Linked DNA regions of Homo sapiens: all the other regions are linked to region 1. The links are contacts of gene promoters, found by promoter capture Hi-C in human tissues and cell types (Jung and others, 2019). All regions are on one chromosome and are shown on one strand. The core of a region is centred on a gene start or on the middle of the fragment in contact, and the rest is flanking DNA. Distances in the headings are between cores, read along the strand shown. Region 1 holds the start of CATSPER3 (cation channel sperm associated 3). Region 2 has its middle 9.8 kb from the start of PITX1-AS1. Region 3 overlaps PCBD2 (pterin-4 alpha-carbinolamine dehydratase 2). Region 4 overlaps CATSPER3 (cation channel sperm associated 3).

Region 1 (7,378 bases), core at 2,095-4,594:
GGGGCCGGGCACAGTGGCTAACGTCTGTAATACCTGCACTCTGGGAGGCCGAGGAGGGCGGATCACGAGGTCAGGAGATTGAGACCATCCTGGCTAACACGGTGAAACCCCATCTCTACTAAACATACAAAAAATTAGCCGGGCGTTGTGGCGGGCGCCTGTAATCCCAGCTACTCGGGAGGCTGAGGCAGGAGAATGGCGTGAACCCAGGAGGTGGAGCTTGCAGTGAGCCGAGATTGCGCCACTGCACTCCAGCCTGGGTGACAGAGCGAGACTTCGTCTCAAAACAAAAAAAAAGAGAGATAGGAGTCCCACTTTGTTGCCCAGGCTTGCTCAGTTTTTGAGAGGAGATTCAAGGAGACTTAAAAACCATGTCACTGGCCAGGCGCGATGGCTCATGCCCGTAATGCCAGCACTTTGGGAGCCCGACGCAGGCAGCTCACTTGAGGTCAGGAGTTCAAGACCATCCTGGCCAACATGGCAAGACCCTATCTCTACTAAAAACACAAAAATTACCCAAGCATGATGGTGTGTGCCTGTGATCCCAGCTACTCAGTCGGCTGAGGCAGGAGAATCACTTGTACCTGGGAGGCAGAGGTTGCAGTGAGCCAAGATAGCACCATTGCACTGCAGGTTGGGCAACAGGGCGAGACTCTGTCTCAAAAAAAAAAAAAAAAAAAAATCCACCATGTCACCACTGCTGCTCTTGCCACCCTCTTCCCAGATTTTAGAGTATTTTTAGAATTCTACAGAAAATTTCTTGAAGCAAAATACCCTTAAAATCTTATAATGGGCTGGGCATGGTGGCTAACGCCTGTAATCCCAGCATTTTGGGAGGCTGAGGCGGGTGGATCACGAGGTCAAGAGATCAAGACCATCCTGGCCAAGAAGGTGAAACCCCGTCTCTACTAAAAATACAAAATTAGCTGGGCGTGGTGGCGGGTGCCTATAATCCCAGCTATTCAGGAGGCTAAGGCAGAGGAATCGCTTGAACCTGGGAGGTGGAGATGGAGGTTGCAGTGAGCTGAGATCACGCCACTGCACTCCAGCCTGACAGAGTGAGATTCTGTCTCGGAAAAAAAAAAAAATCTTATAATGTTTCCAGAAATAAAGCATGTTTTAAAAAAAGAAGAAAATGGACCCATTTTGTCTGCTTACCTCAAGAAGTCTGAACAAGCGGTACCTTATGTCATAACTGGTCCACAAGGCCATAAAAAACGCATTCGATGTGACAGTGCTAATCATAATTATCTTAAAGAAACGGCTCATTATGACTCTCTTCACAAATGCCCGACATTCATCATCGTTCCTCCTGTCAAAAAGTTGAATGTGAAGTATGGTTACAGCACAATAGAGCTAGATCCCCATAAAATGCATACCTTTTTGTAGGGACAAGGCTCTGCTTTCTCCCTTGTGTGAATATAAATTTACATATACTTTTAAATAGCAATGAGATGTTGAATAAATGACCACTGACATATATATGATGATCATGGATACTCTGTCCTCACTCAGTTACTTAGCTCCCTCTCCCTGGACCTCTGAAAAAGAATGGTCACCACTCCTTCTCCAGCAAAACAAAGTGTCATCTTCATTGACTCAACAAATCTTTATTGAGTGGCAACTACATATCAAGCAATCTAGTAGGCACTGGGAACACAGTGACAGCAAGACTAAATATTGCCAGTCTACTAAGCAAAACTGATAATCATCAAATAATCACCCATACACATGCTCACATCAGTAATAAAAAACTGAATACCCCAAGAGAAAATGGGCACACAATCTATTCATGAAATAAACACCAAAGACAAACAAACTTCTCCAAATATGTTCTACAGCAATACCAATCAGGGAGATGCAAAGTAAAACCATTGTTTTTGTTTATAAAATTAGCAATGACTTAAATGTGATAAGATCTAATGCTGGCAACAGTGTAGTATGATTGAGCACTCTCAAAAACTGCCAGAGGCATAAAAACTGACCAGCTCTTTTGAAAAGCCTGAGAACCATTCATTCTCTGACCCAAGATAATATAACCTGAAATGAAATAACTTCAACTAAACATGTCTATCTCAGTATTTTTTCCAGCACTGAGAAGCTTGAAAACAACTTAAACATCTAACAAAAAGGACTGTGTAAGTAAATTATGGTATGTCCATCTTGTGAAATACAGGCACTAAAATATGTCTATGCATTTTTCAGGATTTAGAAAAATGTTTATGATCCATTTTTATATCTTTTGTTTTTGTGTGCAGCAAAACACAAAAACCAAAGATACAAAATTCTCTGTTCAAAATTATCTCACCTGTGCAAAAATCAGCAGTAGAAAAAATCAGCAGGAAATATGCCAAAATTTTAACAGTGTCTGTCTATGGATGGTGAGGTTATAGGTGATTCTTTTTCCTGTTTATTTCCATTTATCTGTGCTTTGCAATTTTTCTCAGAGTACGTATTACTGTTTCCCATTATATGTTACAAATGAAATGAACACATTCTCATAAGTTAAAAAAATATAGAATATATATTTTTCTTTTTCCTTTTCTTTTTTTTTTTTTCTGAGACAGAGTCTCGTTCTGTCACCCAGGCTGGAGTGCAGTGGTGCAATCTTGGCTCACTGCAACCTTCGCCCCCCAGGTTAAAGGGATTCTCCTGCCTCAGCATCCTGAGTAGCTGGGACAACAGGTGCACACCATCACTCCGGGCTAATCTGTGTATTTTTAGTAGAGATGGGGTTTCGCCACGTTGGCCAGGCTGGTCTCAAACTCCTGACCTCAAGTGATCCGCCCCAGCCTCTCAAAGTGCAGGGATTACAGGTGTGAGCCACCGTGCCCAGCCAGAATGTATATACTTTTCTAATATATCAAGATATGTAATTTTCATTATCTGATTTGAGATGGGGTCTATTATAAAAAAAGAGAAAAGCCTTCAGATTATCTAACAGTCAAACTGGTCAAACTGGTCATTCAAGTCTACAGGGCACATAAAGGTAATAGCATGCCAGCCTCACCAATCATAGAAACCAGATTGTCAAGGACATGCAACTTATTTTGGTAAGCAGACGAGTATCTGAGGGAAGAGGCTGAGAGAACACTGACACCCTGCCCTCACACTTCTACTAGCACATTTCTTAACAGGCAATGGAGATAGATAATATTTACTTAAATTTCTTGAATGTTGGGCAAAATCCCACCGATGTAGTGTCAACTGGTGAACTAGAAATGACTCTCGAGTGGCGCTGGTGACGGTGTTGAGACATTTTCCAAATTTTCAACTTTTATTCCTTGCTTTTAGCATCCAACAGAAAATCTCTGCTTAGGGATTTTCCTTAGCGTCTGGATTCTGAGAGGCAGCAGAGAAGGGGCCACGAAGGGAATCCTTGCTTTATGAGGTCACTCTTGGGCATTCTGTTGCATTACCAGTGTGTAGGCCCCTGAAGTGGGGAGCTCCCAAGTGGGTCTATCATGGATTCTCTCTTCCCAAGGAGACTGAGTGCCTCCATTCAGCAAAAAGGCTATGGGCACCCAGCAATCATGAGGCTCTGGGTTAAAGCTGGAAGTCACTAGAAACAGACCACACAAAGGCCCTCCCTTCAAGAAGTGCCCCCAGCTGATAGACACAGGCCCTTAATAATGTGTTAGAAAAAGTTAAGGGTCATATATAAGGGGGAAAAGCAAGTTCTCTGGGCTCTAAGAGAAAGAGAGCACATCCAGGGCACAGCACTGGAAAACACCTGGAAGGACAAGAAAAGATTGTGATGGGTTTGACTTAGAACAAAAGAAAACAAGAGAAGCAAAGAAGGTAATAGTGAGGTAGGGATAGTGGCTCACACTTATAATCCCAGCAACTTGGGAGGCTAAGGTGGGAGGATCACTTGAGGCCAGGAGTTTGAGATCAGCCTGAGCAACATAGTGAGACCCCCATCTCTAAAAAAAAAATAAGAAATAAAAATCAGCGACGAGGCATAGCGGCTCATGCCTGTAATCCCAGCACTTTGGGAGGCCAAGGCAGGCAGGTCGCTTGAGGTCAGGAGTTTAAGACTAGTCTGGCCAACATGGTGAAACCCCATCTCTTACTAAAAAAAAATACATAAATTAGCCGCGCATGGTGGCAGTTGCCTGTAATCTCAGCTACTCAGGAGGCTGAGGATGGAGAATCACTTGAACCCAGGAGGTGGAGACTGCAGTGAGCCAAGATCGTGCCATTGCACTCCAGCCTGGGCGACAAGAGCGAAACTCCATCTCCAAAAAAAAAAAAAAAGGAAATAAAAATTACCCATGGGAGGCTGAGGCAGCAAGATAACTTGAGCCCAGGAGTTCAGGACTAGCCTGAGCAAGATAGTGAGACTGTCTCTACAAAAAATAAAAATAAAAAAAATTAGGTGGGTGTGGTGGCATGCACCTGTAGTCCCAGCTACCAGAGAGGCCAAGGTAGGAGGATCACTTTAGTCCAGGCGTTGGAGGTTACAATGAGCTGTGATCACACCACTGCACTCCAGTCTGCATGATAGAATGAGACCCCATCTCTTAAAAAAAAAAAAAAAAAGAAAAAAAGAAAGGAGGCAATATAAACCCTGAGTTGGCTAACTGCAGGCATAGGATGGGATGTGCACATATAAACCACCTAAACAGAATATAAAGAGTGAGCACATGTGGCAGAGATGTTTTAAGTACAAAAGTAATAGGGATTTTTGCTCTGTTCAACTCTCAGGATTAATATATTCTCCCCACTCACCTTCTCCTAACTCCTTTGGCTTTCAGGGCAAATCAGGACAGTGGGATCTGGGTAGCCCTGTGTTGTATTAAATGCTCAGTGGCTAAATTGGTCAATCTCCTGGACACCAAAGTTCTTGGGCTGTAAGAAAAGGAAGTAACTACCCCACCATCTCTGCTGTCCCTGGTATTCTACAACAAGTATATATGACCATTCATGGTAGGAAAATACTTTGTGGGCAACCAATATACTGAACTGGGAAATAACATCTTACGTACTCATTTTCTCCATTTAAAATCATCAACAGCAAAGTTTTAAGAATCACTGTGATTAATGTCCCCACAATTCAAACTTTAGCCCCATCTTCTCCGTCTTCATTGTTTCCCTCAGGGATCAGCTCCTCCTATAACTCCTGCTATGTCCTTTAGTTATATGCCCCTAACGTCTCAGGGCTCCTGCCCAACATCCATCCACAGGGGCCTCCTGGGGCAGCTGCTCTAAGACAGCCCGCATCAGCTCTCCATCTGTTTCTACCTGCCCTGATATGTCACTGTGCTCAATCCCCTAGGGCACACAGAAGGCCCTCAGTAAGTGTGTGCCGTATGAATATACAAAATAATGGCATCAGGGATCCCTGTGCTCATTCACATAGCTAGGGACAACAGGATTTCATCTCCAGGAAACTCAGTAGTATACTTTTGTGACTTCTCTCTTTAAGCACCAAAGCATACTTTCAGGGAAAAACAAAAAAGAGATTAAAAATGTAAAGAATTCTTTCATGCTGCTTGGAGAGGTGAGGGAAGGTAGCCCACTGAAAGTGACAGAGAAGAGCCCAGTTGTTCTTGGTGTACTACATCAGCACAGCCACAGATGAATGCTGTTTCTGAAGCCAATGATGAAGACTTTAGTCTGGAAATGAAACTCCAGCTGAGTGAGTGGAAAGCAAACAGGAAACCAGAGGTGACAAGCTGATCCAGGGCCTACTGAAATCATACATATCTTCTCATGGATTGGTGGGCAGGGCAGGCATCCTGGGATGAGAAGCCCAAGGGCCATCTCCTGTGCCCTTTCAGCAGCAGCTCATGCTCTGCGTGACCTAAGCAGCACCATCTCAGCCACAGATAGCCGGGGAGAGTCAGCCAATGGCAGGTGCAGCAGCTTGGTGACCCTGAAGTCCTCTGGACAGTCATTAATTTACTAATCCTGAGTAACTGGCATTGAAACACAAAGCTCACATATGATGGCCAAACCCTCCCGATGTTTTTCTGATAACTTTACAAAACTGAAAGCTACAGAGTCCACCTAGAATGTTTCTGAATGCTGAATCAGAAAGTGTACAGACCGCTCCCTACTAACCCTAGTGGTCCAATAGTTCAATATATTAACCGAGGCAGGCTTGTGTCCAAATACAATGTACATGCTGCTGCTTTTTGTCTATAGCAAAAACATAAACAGCCATGCTTAAGCTATTTATCCAGAGGTTTCCTAAATCCTATCAATGTCAGAAAGTAATCACTATTTTCAGAACTTTCATTAACTTCATTGTAGAAAAGGACATCGTCAACCATGTGTCGGCCCGGTTTGCTATCTGTGGAGGTCATGCAAGAGGTCAAAGGTCATGTCTGTTTAACTCCTCTCTACTCCAGTGATCTTTTAGAAAGAAAACAGAAGAAAGCCAAAGCTTACCACATCAGAGAAACCACTGTCATCATGCAAAGATTTGGAACAGACAGGAACCTGGGGGCCTCCAATTTTGACAATATCTCTTTCAAATTGAAACGTGAGTTACTTTAAGCAAGTTTGGTGTTTCATTCTGTTGGAATTTACCACCATGAGCATTTCCATAGACTTCGGATACGGGATCTTTGATTCTCTATAGTAAAGTCTGTGAGTTCCAGCAGATGCAGCGACCCATAACATAGACCTATGTCAAACCCTAATGTAGGTGATAACTAGCAACTTCATTCGCAGGTCTTCACCACTGTCATTATGAGCCATATCCTGCTTTCTCCACTGTGCTACACGTGACATATGTTAACACAGCCATCAAGTTTAGCCTCTCAGACTTCTGCTGAAAACAGAGGAAAAGGGTTCCGTTTAGGGTATAGTAAAACAAGTTAAATGACACCACAGGAAGAAACAAACAAATCCAGAAAGCAGAATATTCTACAGCACAACTGACCCAGTTTTTACAATAAATAAATAACATGGGGAACTGAGGAAGGGAGGGGAGCTTGCTCCAGACTGACAGACTAAAGAGACACAACAACCAGATGCGATTGGTGGGCTTCATATAGATCCTCGATTAGAACCAGATTACTGTCCAAGGACATTCATGACCTTCAGGACAATTTGATTTTGCCTAGGTATTAAGTGTACCAAGGAATCACTTTGTTAGGTATAAAAATGGTACTGTGGGCCGGGCGCTGTGGCTTATGCCTATAATCCCAGCACTTTGGGAGGCCTAAGCGGGCGATCACGAGGTCAGGAGCTCGAGACCAGCCTGGCCAACATGGTGAAACCCCATCTCTACTGAAGATACAAAAAAAAATTAGCTGGGCATGGTGGCGCACACCTGTAATCCCAGCTACCCGGGGGGCTGAGGCAGGAGAATCGCCTGAACCTGGGAGGCAGAGGTTGCAGTGAGCCAAGATCACGCCATTGC
Region 2 (7,378 bases), core at 3,283-5,782, 55 kb before region 1:
AGGACTCACTTCTCACTTCCAATCCATCCCAACTTGTGGGGACTGCTGGCCGCCTCCGCCCTCCCCTGGCTTTTGGAAACTACTGAACAAGACCAGCCTGTAAACTGCCTGTAAAATTCTGCTTCCCTTAAGTAAGTCATTTCTAATGGCAAAACAAAATGTTTGCAGCTGCAGTGGGGGAGGAAGGAGGGGTTGATATTCTGCTTTAGAATCACCTTATGATGGGGGTTGGCACTGCCCTGGACCCAGGCAAGCCCTAGCTAGGAGTAGGGCACAGCCACAGGCCTAGTCACGAGCTGACAGCTGGAGAGCCCTGTGCACACATTCTCAAGCCAGGTCAACACAGCCTTTGAGGTCAGGAGTGTTGTCCCTATTTTACAGATGGAACCAAGGCTCTGTAGCTGGGCCAAGGTCACACTGAGCCAGTAGGTTTTTTAATTCCAAAGCCAGGCATCTTTCCACTGGTTTTCTCACCTTCAGATGAGGAATGAAGAGAGGTCCTCCCTGGAGGATGGTCAGCCTGATGCTGTGAGACCTGGAGTGTGGAGCTCTGAGATGGACAGGGCCAGATACACAGGCTAGTGGGGGTGGGGGTGGAATAGGGCAGGGTGTTGGAGCCAGACCACCCCTCCCCCAGCGGCTCCAGTCCAGAGCTCCGACCCCTCACTCTCTGGGAACATAAACACAACCACATCTGGACTCAGGGCCTCCCTCAGCCTCACGCATCTGCCAAGGCCAGAGGGCCCTGGTCTCAGCTGAGGGCAGGAGTCAGGGGAGACCTAGAAGGAGGCGGGCTGGAGGAAAGTGAAGAGCAAAAAGGAAGCCTGTCCCGAAAGTCAGGTCTAGCACCAGGTGCAAGGGGAGCCACACAGGGCTCAGGTGGAGATGCAGTGTATCTGTGGGGCCACAGGCCAAACAGCTGCAGACGGGTCGAAGGGCAGAAGTAGTCCCAGAATGACCCCGTCATCCATCAAGGACTGTGGCCAAGCAGGTGAGTGAAAGACCCAGCTGCAGGCCCCTCCCAGCTGTTCCCACCCATCTGTGGCTGGCAGAGACTACAGCATGCAGACCTTCCCCGCTGCTCCGGCTGCAGGGTCATCTCTGAAGGGGGCTAGAGACTGTAGGGGGCTCTGAAAGCCCAATCCTCTGGAAAAAAAAAAAAAAAGGCAGAATTCCTAGCCAGCTTTGCCTGAAGAAGACGGGGAGGAGACCGCCATTCATTCAACATTGACTGTGCCCCTGCTGTCAGTGCTAGGATGGAGCAGTGGAAACAGACGCAGCCCCCGCTCTGCTGGACAAGTAAATAGACGTGTGTAATTACAACCTAGGCTGAAAAACAACAGGATGCTGTGAGAGTAAAGGGGGTCTCACTTTAAACCAGGTGGTCAGGCAAGGCCCTTCTGGGGAGGTGGCTCCATCCCTATGTTCAGTACCAAGCTCCAATGCTGACTGAACCAACACAAGGCCCCAAGCCCCAAGCTAAGTGTACACTCCTCATTCATGAGCCCCTTTACCTGCACGCAGCCCTGTGAGGCTGGTATTGCTATTCTTTTATTAAAGTGAAATGCCCTGGTTCTCCTCTTGAGGTCCTATTCCCCGCTTTCTGCATTATTAGGACTTACCTGTCAAAATTTCTCAACAGGTCACTTTAGACGTCATTTGGGATTTTCCCAGCTCAGCTTTCCGTCCCCACCTCTGCAGGGTGTCCTGAATATGAGTCATGATTGACAGTCTTCCTGGCCACACCCCCACCCCACCCCAGGAACTATCCTAGATTCTGGGCCCTCGATCACCCAGCCTATTGTCCTGTGGTACAATCTCCCCACCAATCTTTTGTGGGCCAGGCCCTGGGAGAGGAACCAGACCCAATTCCTGCCACCTACCTGGCCTCTGGGGAGAGGCAGAGCCCAGTCAATACCCTAAGAGATGAGCAGGGACAGGACGCGGGGCAGGGGGCGAAGCAGGGGTACTCACCCCAGCATGCTCTTCTGGGGGCGCCCAGCACCATGGGGCAAGGATGCCTGGACACTTCTTTTTGTTTGCATATCATGTTATGAGTAGCTAACAGCAGGCTCTTCCTGAGCGCCAGGCCCCAGCAAGCTCCTCAGAGCAATTTCATGAGGGAGGGATTTGTTATCCTTATTTTTCACGGGAAGAAACTGAAGCTCAAAGGGAATCAGTAACTTGCCCAACATGGCACAGGCAGCTAATGAGGGGTAGAGGCAGCACCTGAACTCAGACCCTCTGACCAGGGCCTGCGCTCGCACCCACTGTGCTGTACATTACCCTTACATGAATCACATTTGTATTCAGGAGGGAAAGGAAATAAAAAATTAGAATTCTCTTCAAGAAGCTAGACTCAGCTGGGCTCCAGGACTGAGACTGAAAAGGCCCCAGGCCCTAGGATTTGCCCTCCTAAGCTCCGGGCTATGTGACAGCAGCAAAGCGTACAGGTATCAGGGACAGAGGAAGCCCTGGGGTAGGGGCAGACAGAGGCACAGAGCAGCTTTTTGGTGAAGAAAGGGCCCTGAATTCTCAATCACAAAATCCAAGCTCCCACGTCAGTCCGGATTACAAGTTTCCTGTTTCCGAGATGGGGAGACCCCCCCCAACCCTGAGGCCACCCCCCCAGCCCCTGCTGGTCCCTGCCTCCTTGCCTCTCCCATCAGGGGAACCCCACTCTTCACACTCCCACGTTGCTTTTGCAGGTTCCTGGGTCCTGCCTCCTGACTGGCTGGTACTGCCCAGGGCAGGTGTCTACCTCTACCTGTCAAGCAGCTGCAGAGCACTCACGAGAGAGGGCCACTGGAGCCCTGGCTGGAGGGGCTGCAATTCCATGAATCAGACCACTGCTGAGGAGCAGGTCAGGGTGCAGGAAGCTGCTTGTGGAGCAGGGAGGAGGCAGAGGGCAGGCTGGCCCTCACAGGGGATGAAAGCTGCTGTGGCTGGCTGAGGCATATGTCTCACTCTGTGCTGTCCCCCACTGCACTTGACATGTTTCATTTCTCTTATTAGCTTCATTTTATAAATGGGAAATGGGGAGCTCAAAGAGGTCATGTAACCTGTCCTAAGCTGTACCACACCACTTTAGGGACTCAATCCCTAGCCTGACTGCAGAGTCAATGGGCTGTGACTATAAGCACTGCCTCCCAGAGGCTGGCCCTGGCAGCTGAACAGGATCAGTGTAGTCAGACAGCCAGCATGGTGAACTGAGTCAAACAGGTATAGACAGCAACCCCTCAGAAGTGTCTGCACATAGTAGATGCTCAATAAATATTTGTTGAATAAAAGAATTGAGGCACTTTAGGAGGCTGAGGCGGGTGGATCACGAGGTCAGGAGATCGAGACCATTCTGGCTAACACGGTGAAACTCCGTCTCTACTAAAAATACAAAAAAAAAATATTAGCTGGGTGTGGTCACAGGTGCCTGTAGTCCCAGCTACTCAGCAGGCTGAGGCAGGAGAATGGCGTGAACCCGGGATGCGGAGCTTGCAGTGAGCCAAGATAGTGCCACTGCACTCCAGCCTGGGCGACAGTGCAAGACGCCATCTAAAAAAGAAAAAAAAAAAAAAAAGAATTGAGGGAAGGCCCTCCCTCACCCCCACATTCCACAAAACAAATCTTGACCCTTTCCCCCTCTCTGCACTCCTTTGTGTCCTCTCTCTTGCATCTTCCCTTCTGCCACTCACTCGCTCACTCCTTTTCAGCACAGGCAGCTCTTGGCACCGCTTTTAAAAGTGTTTCTGAACAATAAAAAAAACAAATTCAAAAATGGGCAAAGGGCTTGAATAGACATTTCTCCAAACAAGATATACAAATGACCAATAAGCACATGAAAAGAGGCTCAACATTGCTAGTTATTAGGAAAATGCAAATCAAAACCACAATGAGATAGCGCCTCACACCCATCAGGATGACTATTATCAAAAAAGAAAATAACAAGTGTTGGCAAGGATGCGGAGAAATTGGGACCCTTGTGCATTGCTTCTGGGAATGTAAAATGGAACAGCCACTACAGAAAACAGTACGATGGACCAGGCGCGGTGGCTCACGCCTGTAATCCCAACACTTTGGGAGGCCAGGGTGGGCAGATCATTTGAGGTCAGGAGTTTGAGACCAGCCTGACCAACATGGTGAAACCCTGTCTCTACTAAAACTACAAAAAAATTAGCTGGGCATGGTGGCACATGCTTGTAGTCCCAGCTACTCAGGAGGCTGAGGCAGGAGAATCGCTTGAACCCAGGAGTTGGAGGTTGCAGTGAGCCAAGATCATGCCACTGCACTCCAGCCTGGGCAACAGAGTGAGAGTCTGTCAAAAACAAACAAACAAACAGCAACAACAAAAAAATAACAGTATGATGATTCCTCAAAAAAATTAAACATGGAATTACCATATGATCAGTAAGTTCTCTTCTGGGTATATACTCAAAAATAAATGAAAGCAGAGGCTCAGAGAGATATTTGCATACCCACGTTCACAGCAGTAGCTAAAACATGTTTATCGCAATAGCCAAAAAGTGGTAGCAACCCCAGTGCCCATCAGCAGATGAATGGATAAACAAAATGTGGTGTATACATATGGTGGAATATTATTCAGCCTTAAAAAGTAAATTCTGACACAACTACAACATGGATGAACCTTGAATACATTGTGATAAGTGAAATAAGCCAGTCACGAAAGGACAAAGATTGTGATTACACTTACATGAAGTTCCTAGAAGAGGTGAAATCATAGAAAATAGAATGGTGGCTGCCAAGGGCTGAGGGATGGGAAAAGGGGAGCTACTGTTTAATGGGTACAGAGTCTCAGGAAGGATGAAAAAGCTCTGGAGATGGATGGTGGTGATGGTTGCATAACAATGTGAATGTACTTAATGCCATTGAACTGTACAGCTTAAAAGGTTAAAGTGGTAAATTTTATGTTATGTATATTTTTACCTCAATTTTATTCCAAAAGTATATCTGTGTTTATGCCCTTCGTTACCCAGAGAGGCATTTAGAGGCTGGTTCCCAGGACTCCCAGGGGCTGTGTTCACTGTTTGGCAAACCTTTCCCTAGAATCCTCTTCGACCAGCAGCCCCTTGGAGGCCCCAACAATAGCTGACCCCTTGCATGGCCCTCATCCTGACTCTTCATCTTTCTATGCAGCATAGCAGTGGGACCCCATTAAGGACACTTCCTTTATCTAGCGTCTACTATGTGGCCAAGAAAGAGCAACCCGGGATGCATGACTTTTCTTTGTAAGTTTGGCATAAAATTAAATATAGATTCACTATTGCCCTTTTTCTTAACCGAGCTTCTCTGTCAAAAAAGCTAAACAAGGCAAGTAACAAAACAGTCTTAAGCACAGTGCCATTTTTGTTCTTATATATGCACAGAGAAATTTATGGATATGTACAAAGTGTTAATAACACCTACCTCTGACGGGGAAAATGAGCATTTTTTAAATTTGTTCCTTTCAAGGTCTTTTTGCACTGACAATGTATCAGTTTTGCAATGATGAAATAAAATAATGATTATTTTAAAAATACAAAACCCTGTGACCCGCAGGACAGGGAATAGCCTTCCGCCCACTGCCCCTGTCCTCCCACTGAGGTGCCAGTCATCACCTACCTGGGATGCAGCCTCATTTGAGGGAGGCCAGTATGACAGCTATCAAGTAAACTTTTACAGATTTTTACAGAAATGAAACTTTTGTTTTCAAATACATTCTTCTTTGAACAGATGTCATACTAGTAGGTGCCAATAAAAGTGTTCAGTGAGAAGAATTTATAACGATCTTTGATTACTAAGCAAAAGAGTTCAGTGTTTGAAGCAGGTTCTCCTAAGAGGGAGTCCTTCCCTTTTCCTTCCGTCCCTTCTTGCACCCTCCCCGCTCCCCAGCCTCCAACTCAGCAACCGATCTGCACCCCTACCTTGCCCTGACACACACACAACACACACACACACAGTGTGTGCCTGCCAGCCACCATGATCATGGAATCTTTATTAAAGAGGTCCAAATTACCAAGGTTTTACTACACTACTAAAAATAGTCATGCTTACTTAGCCTGTTTAATAAGCACACCATTTCTAATTTTTCTGCCTGAGTAAACTGAAACATCATTCCAGAAATACATTTTTACTGAAACAAGAAGGCTCGCTTTTTTCTTCTTCATCCATACACCGTTCTCTCTCTTTCCCCCTCCTCTGCCTCGCCTCCTGTATCTGTCCCCTGTGTCCCCCTCAGCTCCCACCCCTATCCTTTTTTAAGTTTCCAACATAAAGGGGAAAGTAACAGTAATTTGAACTTGGCTTTCACGCAAAATGGACCAATTTTTTTTAAGTGTTGGTAATTTGTCCTGAAAATGGATATCGGGAGTTGGGCTGGAAAGACTTTGAAGAATGGGGTTTTATGAGTGGAAAATGCGGCCTGAGCATGCGGGAATGCAAGCCGCCCCCCCTCCATGCCTGGGACAGTGCAGCACGTGTAATAATCGCAGCTAATAGCACCATTATTGCTATTATCACATTATATTATTATTCCTCATCAAAATCAGACAATGCTTATTAACCCATTTAATTGAACCAAGGGTTTAACATCCCAATGACTTCACAGAAAGTGCTTGGCAAACTCTCTAAGGCATCGTAGCCACAAAGTGGCTGGCCACTTCACCACCTGCCAGGCTGTGGCGGGGCCCAGCAAGGGTTTCCCCAAACCGTTCCCTCCTGTGGCCTATCTGGGAACTTTCCAGGACACACTGGGATGGATGCGCATCACCACCCAGACTCCAGCCTCTTTGTGCACACACATGCCCACACAGGCGCACACACACACACGCACACCTCTCTCCCGCTGGGTAAATGCAACTCAATAAAGGATACCCTTACACAAAAGACCCCACCCCAGGCACGGTGTGGCCAAGGATCCTTCCTCCATCCCCAAGCTGGCATTCCTATTGTCACCAAGGCCGGAATGAGTACAGGCACACACAATTCATGGTGAACCCCTGGCTTCTCCCAAGCTTGGCATTATCTCCACCAAGGCCTCTCAACTCTCCCACAGTCCAGAGCCCACAGTGGGGCAACTGAAGCCCACCCAGCCCCCCAGGCTCACAGAGACTCACCCAGCCCCTCCAGGCAGGGATATCCACTGAGCCCAGGCTGGTGGAGGGGCCTGGAGGAGGGCACGATCCCCTCGGGGAGTCCAGAAGCCCAAATCCTAGCCCGTGAGCTGGGCTCTTCCCAGGGCATGATGTCACCTCACAGAACCCCAGTAACCCTCTGTCAAGCGGGCATTGGCCCCACCTGCCTACCTCTTGGGATTTCCTGTCAGGGTTTGAAAAGACCCTGGATATGACCATTAAATATTGCTGTCAAGTAGGTTGTTGCTTCAGAA
Region 3 (7,378 bases), core at 3,492-5,991, 48 kb after region 1:
ACCTCAACCCCTGACCCCCATGCCTCAGGATACTCCTCAATAGCCACCGCTGTAGTATATCCAAAAACAACCATCATTCCCCCCAAATAAATTAAAAAAACCATTAAACCCATGTAACCTCCCCCGTAATTCAGAATAATAACACACCCAATCACACCACTAACAATCAATACTAAACCCCCATAAATAGGAGAAGGCTTAGAAGAAAACCCCACAAACCCCATTACTAAACCCACACTCAACAGAAATAAAGCATACATCATTATTCTTGCACGGGCTACAACCACGACCAATGATATGAAAAACCATCATTGTATTTCAACTACAAGAACACTAATGACCCCAATACGCAAAATTAACCCCTTGATAAAATTAATTAACCGCTCATTTATCGACCTCCCCACCCCATCCAATATCTCCGCATGATGAAACTTCGGCTCACTTCTTGGTGCCTGCCTAATCCTCCAAATCACCACAGGACTATTCCTAGCCATACACTACTCACCAGACGCTTCAACCGCCTTCTCATCGATCGCCCATATCACCCGAGACGTAAATTATGGCTGAATCATCCGCTACCTTCACGCCAATGGCGCCTCAATATTCTTCATCTGCCTCTTCCTACACATCGGCCGAGGCCTATATTACGGCTCATTTCTTTACCTAGAAACCTGAAACATTGGCATCATCCTCCTACTTACAACTATAGCAACAGCCTTCATGGGCTATGTCCTCCCATGAGGCCAAATATCCTTCTGAGGGGCCACAGTAATTACAAACCTGCTATCCGCCGTCCCATACATCGGAACAGATCTGGTCCAATGAATCTGAGGAGGCTACTCAGTAGATAGTCCCACCCTCACACGGTTCTTTACCTTTCACTTTATCTTGCCCTTCATTATCACAGCCCTAGCAGCGCTCCACCTTCTATTCCTACACGAAACAGGATCAAACAACCCCCTAGGAATCACCTCCCATTCCGACAAAATCACCTTCCACCCCTACTACACAATCAAAGACATCCTCGGCTTATTTCTCTTTCTTCTCACCCTAATGACGTTAACACTATTCTCACCATGGTTAGGCCTTCCCTAACCATGCTCCTCAAAGAGAATTAGGTCTTCCCATTATTCTCTCTCACAGCACTCCTTTCTGATGCAGAGGCAGTATCTGAGCCACTAACAGTATGGATTGCCTGGAATCCAATCCTGACTCCACACTTACTAGCTGTGAGACCTTGGGCAAGTCACTTAGCAAGTCTCAGTTTCCTCCTCTGTAAAATTTGGGAAATCTATTTCACAGAGTTCTGTGAAGATTAAATGAATGAATACATGTAAAGTCCTTCCCATAGTGCCATGACCCATAGTTTAAGTGTTCACTAACCATTTGCTGTTAAGATTTTCCTTCCTAGGGCCGGGCAGGTGGCTCACGCCTGTAATCCCAGCACTTTGGGAGGCGGAGGTGGGTGGATCACGAGGTCAGGAGATCGAGACCATCCTGGCTAACACGGTGAAACCCCGTGTCTACTAAAAAAATAAATAAATAAATACAAAAAATTAGCTGGGCGTGGTGGCGGGCACCTGTAATCCCAGCTACTCGGGAGGCTGAGGCAGGAGAATAGCGTGAACCCAGGAGGCGGAGCTTGCAGTGAGCCCAGATCACGCCACTGCACTCCAGCCTGGGTGACAGAGCGAGACTCCGTCTCAAAAAAAAAAAAAAAAAGATTTTCCTTCCTGGCACTTAGCATAACTTGTAATGATACATTAACTTTTTTCTTTGTTTACATTCTCCCTCCCCCACTATACTGTATGCTCTGTGAGGATAAGGACAGTATCGGCTTTGTTAACTGATACCCCAGTGTCTGGCATAGTGTCTAGCCTACAGTAAGTGTTTGATAACTGTTTATTGTTAAGTGCATAAAAATCAAGAAAAACTTTCTAGAAATAGGTGGGATGTGAACAGAAGGGGCAGGATAGTGTGAGATGGGGCATGGAAAGGAGAAGAACAGTTTGAATAAAGGAAGAAAAGAACTGAACTGAGGAGCTGGGTGTGGTGGCTCACACCTGTAATCCCAGCTACACAAGAGACTGAGGCAGGAGGATCGCTTGAGCCCAGGAGTTCCAGGCTGCAACCTGGGTGACCGAACAAGACCCCATCTCTAAAAACAAAACAAAACAAAAACAAAAAAACCACTGAACTGAGATGAAAAGGGCCTTGGTTCCAATTCCTGCATGGACACTAATTTTTGTGGCCTTGGTCAAGGTACTCACCCTGTCTGAGCCTTGTTTTCCCCACTTCTTCAGTGAAAGGGATGAGTAGGTGACCTCTCATGAACATTGCAGTTCTAATCTCTGAGCAAAGAGGCTTCTTGCAGAGTAATGCGAGGTAGGCTTAGGGCTGGGCTGTGGGCAGCTTTGAAAACCTCTGAGAAGATGAAGCATGCCCTATAAAATATAATTGGAAGGCAGTGAGATTATCTGAGCAGAGACCAACTTGGTCATGACAAAGTGGCACGCAGGCCAGTGGAAGCAGGAAGAGCCTAAAGGTAACATGTGGCCAGGAAGCTCCTACCAGAACTCTAGAGGGAAGGCAGCTGTATCCAGGCCAGCAGCACAGTCCTGTGAAAGGCACTACAGGACGACTGACCAGTTCTTGGTAACAAATCACCAGGATAATTCTTCCGTTTCAGGTCTAGGTGCTTGAGAGGATGCTGGTGTGGCTACTGAGAGGAACAAGCCATTTGAAGGACAGTTAGAGAGACAAGAGTTTGCTTTCAGACACCCTAAACTGGTGGGAAAGCTACCCCAGGAGAGTACGCCACAGGAACCCCCCTGTACTCTGTGGCCCAGCTCACTGAACCCATTTTAGGGCCCTTATTTCCCAACACACTGCAGACAAAGTATGTCCTCTTACTCCCTGTCCTAGACCTATGTCACCTGCTAACCCCTCCCTTAGTGCCTTCCCTTACAACCACATACCAGATCTTCAAGAACCAACTCAAAACTCCCCTTCTCCAGGCAGCAGCCACCCTGAAGTGCACCTCCTGTGGCTTATTAGCACAGCACTTCACATTCTAGTACCTGACTAACATGGTAAGCTGAAAAAAATCAATCACCTTGTACAATTCAGATGTGCCACCTCCCCAGCAAAACTAGGAGATCTTCTGGGCAGAAACGAAACCAGGTCCTTCTGTTGCATCTTCCTCCTTCCACCTCTTGGATCCAGACCAGCACTAGCCCCTCAGTGGATATAAGCCCAACAGCTCTGCTGGGTTCACGAATCCTGACAGAACCACACCATGTGACTCCTGGCCCAGCCAGCCTGGGGCTGCTCCACCCACCTGGTGCATGTCCACCGACAGGGCTGCGATGGCGAGGACAGGGCACTTGAAGTCAGTTTGATGTATGATATAGCAAAAAGCCTCAGCAGCTGGGCTCAACGCCTGTATTCCCAACACTTTGGGAGGCCAAGGCGGGCGGATCACTTGAGCTCAGGAGTTCAAGTACAGCCTGGCCATGTTGGCCATGTTGGTGAAACACCATCTCTACTAAAAATACAAAAAATTAGCCAGGCTTGGTGGCAGGTGCCTCTAATCCCAGCTACTTGAGAGGCTGAGGTGGGAGAATCGCTTGAACCTAGGAGGTGGAGGTTGCAGTGAGCCAAGATCACACCATTGCACTCCAGCCTAGCCGACAGAGCGAGACTCCGTCTCAAAAAAAAAAAAAAGCCTCCATCCTGCCCTGTTGGCAGAGAGCACACAAGCAAACAGAGTCATTAGCAGCATTTGCTGTTTTGATAGGATTGATTTTAATGATACAATTAAATGACCTTTGATTGCTCAACAGTGATACCTGGGCTACTCCCAAACAAGTACAGCTTTGTTTGTTTCAGCTGGCGAATATTCCCTTCCTCTGGGAAGTATGGTAAAACCCATTTAAGGGAGAAAACTAATCCAGCAAGTAGTCCTTGGAAAACAAGATCTCGCCTAAAACAACAAAATCAAAAAAACAACCTTTCTATGTCACAGTAGGATCTAAAAATGTTGCTGTGGGAACCAGGGATGTGAGTCTTGCATCTGGTAACTGTGACATGACCCAGTATGACCACAAGTAATTCCATGATCTCAATCTTGTTTAGTGTCTTTCTGCGAAATTCAGTAAATGAGTCAGAATGCCCCACTCTAACCTAGATCAAAAGCGCAACATAATAGTAATTCTCTGCAACACAGGGGAGAGAATATTACTGCTTTGTTTTGTTTAAAAGGATGTAAGAAAAAGAGCAAAACATGGAGAGCTCAAAGCCAGGAAGAAGAACCTCAGCCACCTGCCCACACCGCTGGACCGAATCCCTCCTGAGGGCAGAAAGCAACTGGCCGCTACCCAGCCACAGGAATGTGAGTGCAGCACTGCTCAGCCACTACAGCTGCTCCATCAGGCACCCAATATTTGTATTCTGACACATCTAAATGCAAGTTCTGTGTCATGGCCCTAAAGCACCACAACTATGGACAAAACTGCAGTGCAAACCCGAAAGCTATTGATAATGGCAGTACTGAAGCGGTGGGCAGGCATACTAACGAAAAACAGAAACAGAACAGAAATGAGCAAGACCAAAATACTTTTAAGTTATTATTTAAGGTCTCCTTTCAATTATTTTCTGCAATTATTGAGCCAGCAGTCTATTGTTATTAATTCACAGTCAACCTATTTAAGCGGTACCAGCAATGCAGGCAAATGCCTCAGCAATTTCCTAAGTTTTGGGTGTTATTTTCTTGTCAGTTAAATTTAAAGCAACCCATTTGTGACCACTTTATACCAAGTTAATCTCATCTAAAGTGCTTCACAGACCCTAACAGCTACACTAAGGTTTTATACTAATGAAAGCAATTTACATAAATGAAATTTATGTCACTGCATTTCATGACAAATTTTTTATTTTATAATAATTATGGTACTTATATGATAACATCTGTTGATATTCACAGTCTAAACCTGGCACAGATTTAAACCCACAACATTTTCCATGCATCATGTACATTATCTGTGAAAAGCAATAAAAAAAAGCAATGAATGCATTAATCATACCAATATCATCTGCAAAGCATAAATCTGAAATACCTTTCACGTCAGCTCAAACTGCTTTTTTATTTTTTACACACCTGATTTTACTCCATCTGTAAAAGGGCAAGACAAAGACTGTTGAGGAAATTATACTTCTTGGCTGCTTGACTTTAACAAAATACTCAGGCTAAGTTCTGTAAACAGAAGATTTACTACATGACTAAGAGCAAATTATGCAGTTAAAAGTCCATTTTTATTAAAGGGTGGTGTAAGGACCATGGTGTTTTCACACTGCAGTGTGGTGTCATATTTGCATTGTTGACACCTGTTTTACATTTCTCCTCATCTATCTGTTGCATGCGCTTTTACAAATACACGCCAGGTCTAGACCTACTGTACGACACAATCAGCAGCAACAAAGCTCCAAATGATAACATTTCAGGCTCTTATTTCCCTACCCTGGTGGACGCCAACACTGACATTCTAGCCACCTCCTGGGAGCATCAGCGTGGTCCTGCTCAGGAAGAACTCCAAAGGGAACACCAACATGAACACTACACAGATATTTTTACTAGCTTCTCACACTTTAGGTAAAGTTTGCTAAAATATGAGTGTCTCTATTCTATTCCAATGAAAACTATGAACACTTTCTCAGGTTTCTAGTCTGCTGTGGTTACAAAGCCAATCATGAGCACATGTTAAATGCAACAGTGTGTGTGACAGCCATACGAGTTTTCACTTTACCTGGTGCCAGACACACAAACACTAGCTTATACTTTCAAATCAAAACGACATTTTTTAATTTTTATTTTATTTTATTTTTTGAGATGGAGTACTCTGTCGCCCAGGCTGGAGTGCAGTGCCGTGATCTCTGCTCACTGCAACCTCCGCCTCCCGGGTTCAAGCCATTCTCCTGCCTCAGCCTCCCAAGTAGCTGGTATTACAGGCACCTTCTACCACGCCCAGCTGATTTTTGTATTTTTAGTAGAGAAGGGGTTTCGCCATTTTGGCCAGGCTGGTGTCGAACTCCTGACCTCTGGTGACCCGCCTGCTTCGGCCTCCCAAAGTGCTGGGATTACAGGTGTGAGCCACCATGCCCAGCACAAAATGACATTTTCTAACCTATATGATGCCCAGGCCACAGGCATCCTCTTTGGGAGTGCTTCCCTATCCTCCACAGGTAGAATATCCTCTTTAAAGAGTGCACAGATGCATTACTCACTCATAACTTTGATGTGCACAACAAAGAACAATCAAACCCAAACTAATTCATTCACAATGAGAGCTATCGAGACTTCCACCAATATTCTGTGGAGGATTGTTAAGACTTTCATCAGCAGTTGTCTTTCTTCTGGTATCATCAAGCCTTTGACTTCACTAAGTGTTTCAAAATGTTCACCATAAGCCTATTATCAAATTCCTCAATAAAACATTTTTATAAAGTAAGGCAGCAAAAGTAACTTTGAACTGCTCTACACAGGAGTCTCTGTGGACACAGGAAAAGAAACATTTTACGAACCCCAAAGTCACATATGGTGCTACTGCTGCTAGGATGTGCAGAGCACCACCAACCCAGCCTGGGCACCCAGAGAACTCCTCCTCCCTCCCGCTGCAGCTCCAGAAAGCTTCAGTGGCAGCAGCACAGCAACCAAAAGGTGAGGGTGATGAACAAGATACAAAACCAATAAAGCTTGGACTTTGCCCTGAATATCAACCAGCTCATATGATTCCATCCAATATGACTGAATGCCCTGCTGGGCAGGCCCACCGAAGAAAGCACAGACAGGGCCCAGGAGCTCCTCCGCAGAGAACCACCGCTGATTCTCACAAAGCTTGGTCCCTTCCTCCTGAATCACCATTGGAAACTCCTCATGTCCTACACACAAAATTTATCATTCACCCAAGCGCCCAGCCACTGCCGCTTACCTGTTCCTGATCCTGAGCTTATTTCCATGCTGAACAAGGGTAGCCCCAGGTATTCAGAAGTGAAAGAACAGGGACAGCCTTCTGGGGGGCAGAAAGGGGTGTTGCCGCCTGGCCCGGCTGGGCTCCTGCCCTGGAGGGCTCCACCTGCTGGCACCTGTAGTAGCTATTTCCTAGGTTCCAAAGCCTCACCTTCTGCACCTACTTTTAAACTTAAAATCTCCTCGGATTTTGTAAGCTTCCAGTTCATCCCATACATGTCAATGCATAACAAAATCTGTCTTTATGGGACTCTCACACCCACATTTCTACCTGACATTTTGTTCTTTCAACACAGACATCCTGCAGTTACCAAACACCTAAGTTTATATGTCACTTGCAGACCTCTCCCACCT
Region 4 (7,378 bases), core at 2,335-4,834, 36 kb before region 1:
TAAGGGTGGGTGGGTGGGTTGGTTGGTTGGTTGAATAAACTAACGAATTAATGAAGTGAATCAGAACTGTGCCCAGATTGAGGGCTGGATCAATTTAACAGTGCTTTACCAGTGTCTGACATCCACCCTCAGTCAATTCTCTCAGGTCTGAGGTGACCACTCCACTTGAACCCCAACCTGGCTGTGTGGTCATCTCAGGGCGTCCTGCTTTTGCTTCTCAGCTGAGGGCCAGCCCTGAATGCTCTCTGCCCCGGGCCCAGGAGGAGTAGGGGAACGACTCTGGGAGTGAGTATACAGAAGGCCGAGAGGAATGTGGCTCCCTGGTCCTTGTCGACCCCGTCTTCACAGGTAGGTCCCTGTCTTGTAACCTCAGTCTTGCCCCGTATGAAGTGGGCATTTGTCTTATCTCCCCGCTACATTGCCCATTTCTGGGGAGCACCGTGTATGACTCCTTATCATTCATTCTTCCTGCTCTGGAGTCTTGCATGCAGTAGTCACTCAATGCATGTTCACCTACCTAGACGTTTCACAGACATAACCTCAAGGTAGGTAGGTGTTATCATTCTTCCCACTTCAAAATGAGCCGTCAGAGGCTCAAAGAAGCAAATTGTCTTGGCCAGGGTCACACTCCAATACAATGGCAGAGCTGGGACCAACTCTCAAAGCCTTTGCCCCATGCCACCACCTTCAACCACTAATGACCCTGAGCACAGAGACTGTTTACTGGCTTAGTACTAGGAAAGGAGGTCCTTAGAGCTAAGAAACAAGGCAGTACAGTTTGGACAGTTTGGGGTAACCTGGGAAACAGAGGCAGTCCAAGAGCCCTGGGCTGCCCTCCATGCGGAACGGTTTGGCGCTGCCTGCAGGGGTGAATGCACACCAGATGCCTCCCATCTCTCCTTGGGAAAAGAAAATAAATGTTTTTGGATTAATTGCAAAACAGCTGAGATTTTATTATTATTATTATTATTATTTTTTTTTTTTTTCGAGACGGAGTCGCTCTGTCACCCAGGCTGGAGTGCAGTGGCGCAATCTCGGCTCACTGCAAGCTCTGCCTCCCGGGTTCATGCCATTCTCCTGCCTCAGCCTCCCAAGTAGCTGGGACTACAGGTGCCCGCCACTGCGCCCGGCTAATTTTTTTTTGTATTTTTAGTAGAGATGAGGTTTCACGTGTTAGCCAGGATGGTCTCGATCTCCCGACCTCGTGATCCACCCACCTTGGCCTCCCAAAGTGCTGGGATTACAGGTGTGAGCCACGGCGCCCAGCCGATATTTTTTTTTTCTTAATGCCTTCCTCCCAACTAAACAGAGGCAGAACTTCTTTCCCAAGGACTAAGATGAAAGCAGTAAATCCTCATGAGAAAAGCTGTGATGAGATATGGTCTGCAGATCAGGTTTTGAGTGGGAAGGGAGGAACACTGGGTGGTAGAATCCAAAGCCTGTGCAGAAGGGTTGCGGAGAGGCCTGGTTGGGCCTCCCACCTCCAGGCCAGCCCACAAGCTGGTGCCACCTGAGGTCCAAGCTGAGCAACCTTTAGAGCAGCAGTGGAGGAACAGACACGCTCTCCTGGGAGCCCCATAAAGGACCCATGACAGCTAGAGTTGGCCAAGTTCTTTAAGCACAATCCACGCAGGCCCTCTTAGGGTGCAGTCCAGAAAGGTGCGGAAATCCAGTCCTAGGAGAGGGTTGCCCAGTTCCCCTTAGGCCAGTAGCTCCCTCCTGAGGAAGTTCTAAGTTTTGAGGCCCATGGTCTGGCCCCCATTGGATGTGTGATTTTGAATTCCCAAATTCTTTTGGGGGGGCAATTCCCTGTACCCAGTTCAGCTCTCCCGGGCTCTGGATCAAGCCACAGCCCTGGGGCATTCTGGATGTGGAAAGGAGCTCCAGGCAAGGCAGGTGCCCAGGCCCAGTGCTTGGAGGGACCCCTCCTACACAGCCCATTGGATGTGTGGAAGATGATCTGGCCCCAGGAGGAGGAGGCAGGGAGGAAGGGGGACTAATGCTCACATCACAGCCCAGCATCTGAAGGTTGCTTCCGGCTGAAATGCTGATGAACATTTGTGCATCTCTGTGCAAAACAGCATTTCCTCATGGTGCAGGTTCATTGTCATAGGTAGAAGGCAGAGTGTCATTTTAATTAATCAGGGGTCAGGAGCCAAGAATGCGCCAGAGCGCCATCTCTGGGCTCTGAGATTGTAGCTCTTTATTTAAGGATTCCTTTAGACTTCAATTAATAGAAATTAGCCCAGAGGTACAAGTCCCGACCATGGGCAGGTCCAGCTCCCCATGGCCAGCAGGCCAGCCAACATTCAGAGGGCATGTTATCCAGGGTCACTTCTGTGCCTCTGGGGATCTAGGGTCCCATGACATCCCAAGGCTACAGGAGAGCCACAGCTCAGGGTGGCTGGTGATCCCCAGGGAATCACTCTAGGATGCAAGGCCCTGCTTAATGACAGAAAAACCATGAGGCCAAACCTGTGGTGCATGCGTGTGTGCCTGTTGCCTCTGCATGCCCAGGGTCTCTGTGCATGCCTGCAAGGGCCAAAGGCTGAGCAGTCCCCAAGCAGGCCGGCTTGCTCTGGGATACAGCCCTTGGCCAGCAGGAGCCTTTGCCTTCTAATCAGGCTGCCACAATACAGCCAAGACGGTGCACTAAGCCAGCAGCAAGTGCCCCCAGCCTTGAGGTGCCAGTCTGGGTCAATGCCCCTTTCTTCCAAGATGGAAGCCCTCCCTGCCACCAGTCCTTTTTGCTTCCCTCCTCCCTGTGTGGTCCTGGGTCTCCTTTTCCTCAGCCCCCTGCCCTCCGCCCTGTTCCTCGCATGATTCCCACTGGTCTCTGGCACCCTCATTCCACAGTTCCTCTCTCCTGGCCTCACCTGAAAGTCCTCTCTCAGCAGAGGACATCACAACCCAGTTCCCCTCTCCAAGAAGGCTGCCTATCCCCGACAGCCCTCAGATTCAGGGGGCCACCATCTACCTTATCCTGGGATCCCCTGTTTTCACAGGCACAGACCCTGCTTTTGGGCAGGGCCAACCTTCCAGCTTCCCCCTCTCCCTCATGTCTTGAAGTCTCTGCCTCCAGACTCAGTACCTCCTTCTCCAGGCAACCCTGCTGTCAGCCTGGGGACCTTCCACATCTTTATGGAAGATGCCAGGCCTCTTCACCCCTGGACTTCCCTCTCTAGTGACCCTGGTGCCACTCCTGGCCCCTGCTCCCTTGGTGCCCAACACCTGGAAAAACCAGATTACACTTCCCACTGCCAGATCCCGCCCTCACTCTGGGGTGCCCATCTGACCATGAACACCTCGGGCCTCCAGTCTTCTTTCCCGTCCACCTGCCTTCCTCTCATCCCTGCTGACTCCAGTGCCCAGCACCTTACATACTCCCTTCCTCTTAGGACACACTGCAAGGTCTGTCTGTAGCCTGAAAATGGGGAGCCACCCTCAGGCTTGAAACCTAGGATGCTATGATTGGATGTGCACTTTCAAGATCCTCCCCACCCCACACGGGCATTTCTGTTCCAGGGCTCCCAGTAGTGTGGGACGCCAATGCAGGAATCCAGGTGAGGCTGATGGTGACAGGAATGAAGAGATGTGGACAAGTCAATAACCACTGAGGAGGCCACACAACAAAGCTTGAGAGAGGAGTCTAAGCTGACAGTCAAATTTATGACTTGGCAACTGAATGCGGGTGGGGGACCCCTCTTTACCAAAAGACGAAATACTGGAGGAGATGATGGCTGAATAAGAACAACTCCAGTCTATAGCTCCCAGTGTGAGTGACGCAGAAGATGGGTAATTTCTGCATTTCCAACTGAGGTACTGAGTTCATCTCACTGGGGCTTGTCGGACAGCGGGTGCAGGACAGTGGGTGGAGCCCACTGAGTGAGAGCCGAAGCAGGGCGAGGCATCGCCTCACCCAGGAAGCACAAGGAATCAGGAAATTCCCTTTGCTAGCCAAGGGAAGCTGTGACAGACGGCGCCTGGAAAATCGGGTCACTCCCACCTAATACTGCACTTTTCCAACAGTCTTAGCAAATGGCACACCAGGAGATTAATATCCCGCACCTGGCTAAGAGGGTCCCATGCTCACGGAGACTTGCTTATTGCTAGCACAGCAGTCTGAGATTGAACTGCAAGGCAGCAGCGAGGCTGCGGGATGGGCGCCTGCCATTGCTGAGGCTTGAGTAGGTAAACAAAGCGGCTGGGAAGCTCAAACTGAGTGGAGCCCACAGCAGCTCAAGGAGGCCTGCCTGCCTCTGTAGACTCCACCTCTGAGGGCAGGGCATAGCTGAACAAAAGGCAGCAGAAACTTCTGCAGACTTAAATTTCCCTGTCTGACAGCTTTGAAGAGAGCAGTGGTTCTCCCAGCACGGAGTTTGAGATCTCAGAATGGACAGACTGCCTCCTCAAGTGGGTCCCTGATCCCCGAGTAGCCTAACTGGGAAGCACCCCCAAGTAGGGGCAGACTGACACCTCACATGGCCGGGTGCCCCTCTGAGATGAAGCTTCCAGAGAAACAATCAGGCAGCAACCTTTGCTGTTATGCAATATTCGCTGTTTTGCAGCCTCCACTGCTGATACCCAGGCAAACAGGGTCTGGAGTGGACCTCCAGCAAACTCCAACAGATCTGCAGCTGAGGGTCCTGACTGTTAGAAGGAAAACTAACAAACAGAAAGGACATCCACACCAAAACCCCATCTGTAAGTCACCATCATCAAAGACCAAAGGTAGATAAAACCACAAAGATGGGGAGAAACCAGAGCAGAAAAACTGAAAATTCTAAAAATCAGAGCACCTGTCCCCCTCCAAAGGAACGCAGCTCCTCACCAGCAATGGAACAAAGCTGGATGGAGAATGACTTTGATGAGTTGAGAGAAGAAGGCTTCAGACGATCAAACTTCTCCAAGCTAAAGGAGGATGTTCGAACCCATCACAAAGAAGCTAAAAACCTTGAAAAAAGATTAGACAAATGGCTAACTAGAATAACCAGTGTAGAGAAGGCCTTAAATGACCTGACGGAGCTGAAAACCATGGTACGAGAACTACGCGATGCATGCACAAGCTTCAGTAGCCGATTCAATCAACTGGAAGAAAGGGTATCAGTGATTGAAGATCAAATGAATGAAATGAAGCGAGAAGTTTAGAGAAAAAAGAGTAAAACGAACAAAGCCTCCAAGAAATATGGGACTATGTGAAAAGACCAAACCTATGTCTGATTGGTGTACCTGAAAGTGACAGGGAGAATGGAACCAAGTTGGAAAACACTCTGCAGGATATTATCCAGGGGAACTTCCCCAACCTAGCAAGGCAGGCCAACACTCAAATTCAGGAAATACAGAGAACACCACAAAGATACTCCTCGAGAAGAGCAACTCCAAGACTCATAATTGTCAGATTCACCAAAGTTGAAATGAAGGAAAAAATGTTAAGGGCAGCCAGAGAGAAAGGTCGGGTTACCCACAAAGGGAAGCCCATCAGACTAACAGCTGATCTCTCGGCAGAAATTCTACAAGCCAGAAGAGAGTGGGGGCCAATATTCAACATTCTGAAAGAAAAGAATTTTCAACCCAGAATTTCATATCCAGCCAAACTAAGCTTCATAAGTGAAGGAGAAATAAAATACTTTACAGACAAGCAAATGCTGAGAGATTTTGTCACCACCAGGCCTCCCCTAAAAGAGCTCCTGAAGGAAGCACTAAACATGGAAAGGAACAACCAGTAACAGCCACTGCAAAAACATGCCAAATTGTAAAGACCATCAAGGCTAGGAAGAAACTGCATCAACTAACGAGCAAAATAACCAGCTAACATCATAATGACAGGATCAAATTCACACATAACAATATTAACCTTAAATGTAAATGGGCTCAATGCTCCAATTAAAAGACACAGACTGGCAAATTGGATAAAGAGTCAAGACCCATCAGTGTGCTGTATTCAGGAGACCCATCTCACGTGCAGAGACACACATAGGCTCAAAATAAAGGGATGGAGGAAAATCTACCAAGCAAATGGAAAACAAAAAAAGGCAGGGGTTGCAATCCTAGTCTCTGATAAAACAGACTTTAAACCAACAAAGATCAAAAGAGACAAAGAAGGCCATTACATAATGGTAAAGGGATCAATTCAACATGAAGAGCTAACTATCCTAAATATATATGCACCCAATACAGGAGCACCCAGATTCATAAAGCAAGTCCTTAGAGACCTACAAAGAGACTTAGACTCCCACACAATAATAATGGGAGACTTTAACACCCCACTGTCAATATTTAACACCCCACTGTCAATATTAGACAGATCAATGAGACAGAAAGTTAACAAGGATATCCAGGAATTGAACTCAGCTCTGCGCCAAGCAGATCTAATAGACATCTATAGAACTCTCCACCAAAAATCAACAGAATATACATTCTTCTCAGCAACACATCGCACTTATTCCAAAATTGACCACACAGTTGGAAGTAAAGCACTCCTCAGCAAATGTAAAAGAACAGAAATTATAACAAACTGTCTCTCAGACCACAGTGCAATCAAACTAGAACTCAGGATTAAGAAACTCACTCAAAACCGCTCAACTACATGGAAACTGAACAACCTGCTCCTGAATGACTACATAACCTGCTCCTGAATGACTACATAACGAAATGAATGCAGAAATAAAGATGTTCTTTGAAAACAAGGAGAACAAAGACACAGCATACCAGAATCTCTGGGACACATTTAAAGCAGTGTGTACAGGGAAATTTATAGCTCTAAATGCCCACAAGAGAAAGCAGGAAAGATCTAAAATTGACACCCTAACATCACAATTAAAAAAACTAGAGAAGCAAGAGCAAACACATTCAAAAGCTAGCAGAAGGCAAGAAATAACTAAGATCAGATAAGAACTGAAGGAGATAGAGAGACAAAAAGAAACCCTTCAAAAAAATCAATGAATCCAGGAGCTGGTTTTTTGAAAAGATCAACAAAATTGATAGACCACTAGCAAGACTAATAAAGAAGAAAAGAGAGAAGAATCAAATAGACACAATAAAAAATGATAAAGGGGTTATCACCACCAATCCCACAGAAATACAAACTACCATCCGATAATACTATGAACACCTCTACACAAATAAACTAGAAAATCTAGAAGAAATGGATAAATTCCTGGACACCTACACCCTCCCAAGACTAAACCAGGAAGAAGTTGAATCCCTGAATAGACCAATAACAGGCTCTGAAATTGAGGCAGTAATTAATAGCCTACCAACCAAAAAAACTCCAGGACCAGATGGATTCACAGCCAAATTCTACCAGAGGTACAAGGAGGAGCTGGTACCATTCCTTCTGAAACTATTCCAATTGATAGAAAAAGAGGGAATCCTCCCT

What was found. The method cuts DNA at HindIII sites, captures the fragments that hold promoters and counts their contacts. A contact is called where the count stands out against the background at its distance.
Region 2: a fragment that was not itself captured here is called in contact with the fragment with the promoter of CATSPER3 in region 1 in 1 of the 25 tissues and cell types used here (IMR-90 fibroblasts).
Region 3: a fragment that was not itself captured here is called in contact with the fragment with the promoter of CATSPER3 in region 1 in 1 of the 25 tissues and cell types used here (mesenchymal stem cells).
Region 4: a fragment that was not itself captured here is called in contact with the fragment with the promoter of CATSPER3 in region 1 in 2 of the 25 tissues and cell types used here (mesenchymal stem cells and psoas muscle).

What each region holds. Positions count from the first base shown.
Region 1 is chr5:134,963,873-134,971,250 of GRCh38, reverse strand. CATSPER3 (cation channel sperm associated 3) reads right to left here and starts at 3,344. Exons shown (of 8, transcript NM_178019.3): 1 at 3,162-3,344; 2 at 1,159-1,312. The coding sequence starts at 3,259. The HindIII fragment of the contact is 15,471 bases long and covers 1-7,378 here.
Region 2 is chr5:135,019,747-135,027,124 of GRCh38, reverse strand. No RefSeq gene overlaps it. Among named protein-coding and RNA genes, the nearest start is that of PITX1-AS1, 9.8 kb to the left of the region's middle. RefSeq lists enhancers at 1-79, 189-778, 991-2,190 and a silencer at 1,571-2,030. The HindIII fragment of the contact is 6,135 bases long and covers 1,465-7,378 here.
Region 3 is chr5:134,917,008-134,924,385 of GRCh38, reverse strand. All of the region lies in intron 2 of PCBD2 (pterin-4 alpha-carbinolamine dehydratase 2), which reads right to left. It also overlaps the pseudogene MTCYBP18 and the pseudogene MTND6P4. Among named protein-coding and RNA genes, the nearest start is that of PCBD2, 16 kb to the right of the region's middle. RefSeq lists a silencer at 333-627. The HindIII fragment of the contact is 4,633 bases long and covers 2,425-7,057 here.
Region 4 is chr5:135,000,445-135,007,822 of GRCh38, reverse strand. The region is part of intron 3 of CATSPER3 (cation channel sperm associated 3); the gene reads right to left. Among named protein-coding and RNA genes, the nearest start is that of PITX1-AS1, 29 kb to the left of the region's middle. The HindIII fragment of the contact is 5,962 bases long and covers 604-6,565 here.